2 separate regions of the Homo sapiens genome follow, and region 2 is linked to region 1. The links are contacts of gene promoters, found by promoter capture Hi-C in human tissues and cell types (Jung and others, 2019). All regions are on one chromosome and are shown on one strand. Each heading gives the region's core, a stretch centred on a gene start or on the middle of the fragment in contact. The rest is flanking DNA. Distances are from core to core; before and after follow the strand shown. Region 1 holds the start of ADARB1 (adenosine deaminase RNA specific B1). Region 2 overlaps ADARB1 (adenosine deaminase RNA specific B1).

Region 1 (2,563 bases), core at 41-2,540:
GTGTGCGCCACCCCATCCCTGGCTTGCGATGGTCTCTTACTCCCCACTTTACAAGGGAGGAAAGAGGCCGAGGGCAGAGTGGGCCGCCTGAGGTTTGGAGGCCAGGGCTAGTACAACCTCAATTTGACCCTGGAACCTGCCGCTTCCCCCACCCAGGTGCGGGACCCACCCGCTTGTCCACACCTGGCTCTGCCCACCGCCCCCGGCTGCTCCTCTGGGCTCAGGTCGCCGCGGTCAGGAGCTGCCAAGTTTGCCTATCAAACTTTATCTTCGTGCAGAGAACTGCAGCCTGGAGCTGGTTATTCCGGTCAGTGAAAACGTTGCATTTCTACATATGCTTATCATCATCTGTGTAAACATTTCTTGGTATAACTGTGGAACAGTCAGTAAATATAGATAAATCGAAGAGTAGGTCTATTGCATATGCTATAAAAAAATGCTTTTACTATCAACCTAAAACAAACAAACAAACAAAAAAAATCAAACAAAACCACCATCACCTAAACGTTGGTAACTGGAGCAGCTGCTAGTGTCAGTGCGGACTAAACAGGAGACGGCGGGAACCGTGTCCAGCCAGGGTCCTGGGCCGCGACCTGGTTCTCCCGGAGTCTACAGTGAGGATGACGGGCGGGGAGAGGGGGCCGGCGGGACCCGCGTGTCCCAGGCAACTCCGGGAGAGGGAGAAGCAGGGGTGGCTCGGCGGGGGCTCGGCGGGGGCTCGGCGGGGGCTCGGCGGGGGCTCGGCGGGGGCTCGGCGGGGGCTCGGCGGGGGCAGCGCCCGCTGCAGGGAGGAGCGCGGGGGCCCGGGAGCCTGGGCAGCACCGCGAGACGCCACCTCCGCAAAACGCAAACGCCAATCGCCGGGCGCCTGCGGTCCCAGCTACCAGGGAGGCTGAGGCGGCAGGATCGCGTGAGCTCGGAGGTCCACCGCGCTCCAGTCTGGGCGACAGTGAGACCCCGTCCCCAAAACGAAGGCGGGCAGAGTCTCCTCAGCCGCGCTCGGGCGGGCGGCGCCGCGACGCCAGGCCGGTCCCGCGCTCTCGCCCCACGCTCCGGAGCCGCCCAGCCGCGGTCTCTCAGCTCCGGCCGCGCTCCAGCCCCAACGGCCCCGCGCCCGTCCGCCGCAGGTGGTCGTGAGGGAGGTGCCACAGCTCCGGCTGCCCACGACAGACACGGGCGCCCCAGCGCGCGCACGTCCGGCGTCGCTGCGCCGCCCCCGCCCCCTCGGCGTGCGCGCGCCCGGCGGGCCGGCGGGGGCGGGGAGGGGGCGGAGCCGCCGGCGGCGGGGCTGAGGCGCTGAGGCGGCCGTGGCGGCGGCGGCGGCGGCGGCGGCAGCGGCGGCCAAGCGGCCAGGTTGGCGGCCGGGGCTCCGGGCCGCGCGAGGCCACGGCCACGCCGCGCCGCTGCGCACAACCAACGAGGCAGAGCGCCGCCCGGCGCGAGACTGCGGCCGAAGCGTGGGGCGCGCGTGCGGAGGACCAGGCGCGGCGCGGCTGCGGCTGAGGTGAGGGCGGCGCGGGGCCGCGGCGGCTCGGGCGGGCGCGGGCTCCGGACCCCGCGGTGGCGGCGTTTATGTAAGCGCCGGGCAGGGACTGGTGGTGGGGCCGGAGCTGCGGGCCGTCCCGGGAGCGGAGGGCGCCCGCGGAGAAGCGAGGGTGCCGCGGCACCGCCTCGCACCCACCCTCCTGGGTCGCCCGTCTGCTCCGGCGCTCGGCTCCCGGAGGAAGCTGCGCCCGGGCGGCCCCGCGTCCCCTCCCGAGGGCGCCGAGTCCGCGTGGGATGCGCCGCGCTGCGCCGCGGGGAGGGCAGGTGCGCCGGGACGAGGCTGCGCCCTGGGGACCGAGACTGCGTTTTGGGGAGGGGACGGTGTGCCCTGGAGATCGGAGGCTGCGCTGGGGACGAGGCTGCGCCCGGGGACCAGAGGCTGCCCCGGGTACAAGGTTGCGCCGGGGAACGGGAGGCTGCGTTGGCAACAAGGCTGCGCCTGGGGACGGTAGGCTATGTCCCTGGGGAGACGCTCCGCCCGGCATGGGACGCTGCGCCGGGGGACGGCAGGCTGCGCCCGGGATGAGGCTGGGCCCGGGCAGGGGAGGCTGCCTTGGGAGGGGACGCTGTGCCACGGGAGTGGAGACTGCGTTGGGGACGAGTCTGCGCCCTGGACGGTCCTGCGTGTCCTTCCGAGGGCGCAGTGTCCGCGCGGGATGCTCTGCGCCGCGGGCGGCCCGGGCCAGGGAAGTTCCTGCGGGTGCCGGGCGTCTGCAGCGATCGGGAGCAATCTGGGGCAGTTGGGGGCCCGAGGTGACTTTTGACGTGTTCACATCAGAAGGAAAATTATTGCGTGGTGGATGGGTGCGAGGGAAGGTGTCAGATTGGGCTGTGGACGCTGAAACGTGTTGGAGTCCCGATTTACACGCTGGAAAACCTAACCTAAAACGTGTTCCTGTCCAGGTTTCTATGTCGGAGATCTGCACCGTGGTGTTTAGTTCCCAGTTAATATTTTTGGTCAGCAGGTTTGGGCTGTTACTTCTGATACAGGCATTTTACTTCCTTCTTACTAACCATT
Region 2 (2,563 bases), core at 38-2,537, 140 kb after region 1:
TCATCTTGGGGGAACACATTCAGTCTTTCACCATTAGGTATGATGTTGGCTGTAGGATTTTTTATTGCTGTTTTTTGTTTTAGAGACAAGGTCTCACTCTTTCACCCAGGCTGGAGTGCAGTAACGTGATCATAGCTCATTGTAACCTGAAACTCCTGGGCCCAAGTGATCCTCCTGTCTCAGCCTCCTGAGTAGCTGGGACTACAGGTGCATGCCACCATGCCTGGTTCATTTTTAAATTTTTTATAGAGACAATGTCTTCCTATGTTGCCCAGATTGGTCTTGAACTCCTGGCCTCAAGCAACCCGCCTGCCTCAGTCTCCCAAAGTGCTGAGATTATAGGAATGATCCACCATATCTGGCTGCTGTAGGTTTTTTACAGATGTCTTTATCAGCTCAAGACATTTTTTTTTTCTATTTATAGCTTACTCAGCGTTTTTAATCAAGAATGTATGCTGGATTTTGTCTGATGCTTTTTTTCTGCTCTTAGATGACTGTTGTCATTGCAGTGACTTAGGCCTATAGTCCCAGCTACTTGGGAACTAAGGCAGGAGGATCACTTGAGCCCTGGAGTTTGAGGCCATCCTGGGCAATGTAGTGAGACCCCATCTGAAACAACAACAACAAAAAATGAGATGAGCATTTAGTTCATTTTTCAGTTTGCTAGTGGTGACGTTAAAAAAAAATTAAACCAACTTTGCATCTTGGGATAAACGTTATATGGTTATTATGTGCTATTCTTTTTATATATTGTTGGATTCAGTTTGCTAAAATTTCATTTAGAATTTTTGTATTTATATTTGTCTGTAGGGATATTGGGCTATCATTTTAGTTTAATGTCTTTGTCAGGCATAAAATGAGTTGGGGTGCATTTCTTTCTCTTCAGTTTTCTGGAAGAGTTTGTTTGGATTTGGTATTATTTCTTTAAATATATGGTTAAATTCACCAGTGAAACCATTGGGCCTGAAGTTTGCTTTGTAAGAAAATTCTAACTACAATTTATTTTTCTATAATAGATTTAGGGCTATTCATGTTATCTGTTTTTATCTTTTTTCTTGAGTAAGCTTCAGTAATTTGTCTTTCAGGGAATTTGTCCATTTCATCTAATTTGTCTAATATATTGGCATAAAAGCATTCAGAATATTCATTTTAATATCTGTGATATCTCTAATGATATCGTCTTATCCCTTATATTGATGATTTGTATCTTCTCTTGGTTGTTTTTTTCTGATCAGTCTAGCTGGAAGTTTTTCAATTCTGTTTGTCTCTAAGTGCCAACTTTTAGGTTCAGTGATTTTTGTCTTTTGTTTTATATTTCAATAATTTTTACTCTGATTTTAATTATTTCTTTTTTTTCCGCTTACCTGGTGTTTCAATTGCCCATCTTTTTGTAGTTTTTTAAGGTGCTAGTTGAGGTCATTGTTTTAAGACCCTTTTTACTGCTTTTGTAGCATTTAAAAATTATGATATGTTTTCATTTTCACTTATATTAAAATACTTTGTCCCTTGGGTTATTTAGAAGTCTGCTATTTAGTTTCAAAATACTAGGGATTTTACAGAGATCTTTCTGTTGTTGGTTTTTTAGTTTCATTTAATGACTTCAGTCCTTTTAAATTTATTAGACTTGGTTTTATGGACCAGAATATGATCTATCTTTATAAGTGTTCCACAAAACTTGAAAGAATGTGAATCTGCCACTTTGGGGTAGAGTGATCTGTAAATGTTGATTAGGCCAAGTTGTTTGATTATACTATTTATTTTCTTTTATATTCTTACCGATCTTCTACTTGGTCTATCAGTTATTGAGAGGCAGGATTGAAAATCTCTTAGTTATAATTGTACATTATCTATTTCTTCCCCTTTTTTAGAGTTTTTACTTCCTGTATTTTGTAGCTCTGTGATTAGATGCATAAAAATGTAGGATTGTTGGTTTATCTTAATAAACCGACCTCCTTTACCATTATATGATGACCCTCTTTATTTCTGGTAATAGTGTTTGTTCTGAAATTTGTTTTGAGATTAATATAACCTCCTCAACTTTCTTTTGATTAGTGTTAGCACAGTGTATCTTCTATCCCTTTATATTAAAGTACTTTATCTTAAAAATATGTTTCTTATAGACATATATTTATATATATTTATATGTTTGGATCTTGCTTCTCTCTCCCACCATGGACAATCTCTGCCTTTTCACTGAGGTACTTAGACCATTTACATTTATTGTGATTATTGATATTATTAGGTTTAAATTTCATCTTGCTACTTATTTTCTACGTGTTTCATATGTTCTTTGTTCACTTTTTCCTCATTTTCTTACTGCTTTTGCCTTAATTGGGTGTGTTTGATGATTCCATTTTGACTCCTTCTTGACTTTTGAGCTGTAACTTTTGTTAATTTGGTGGTGGTTTTTAGGGTTTATAGTATGCATTCTTACCACGATCTCCCTTCAAGTGATATTATACTACTTCACATATAGTAAAAGAACCTTACAACAGGATACTTTCGTTTTTCCATTCCCAACCTTTGTGGTATTGTTTTCAGACACTTTTGCATGTGTTAAAAA

What was found. The method cuts DNA at HindIII sites, captures the fragments that hold promoters and counts their contacts. A contact is called where the count stands out against the background at its distance.
Region 2: a fragment that was not itself captured here is called in contact with the fragment with the promoter of ADARB1 in region 1 in 2 of the 25 tissues and cell types used here (mesendoderm cells and thymus).

What each region holds. Positions count from the first base shown.
Region 1 is chr21:45,073,290-45,075,852 of GRCh38, forward strand. It overlaps ADARB1 (adenosine deaminase RNA specific B1), which reads left to right and starts at 1,291. Exons shown (of 11, transcript NM_001112.4): 1 at 1,291-1,504. LOC105372836 (a long non-coding RNA gene) reads right to left here and starts at 452. Exons shown (of 5, transcript XR_937796.3): 1 at 184-452. RefSeq lists silencers at 935-1,024, 1,045-1,244. The HindIII fragment of the contact is 7,799 bases long and covers 1-2,563 here.
Region 2 is chr21:45,214,984-45,217,546 of GRCh38, forward strand. All of the region lies in intron 9 of ADARB1 (adenosine deaminase RNA specific B1), which reads left to right. Among named protein-coding and RNA genes, the nearest start is that of LINC00334, 18 kb to the right of the region's middle. The HindIII fragment of the contact is 3,297 bases long and covers 1-2,563 here.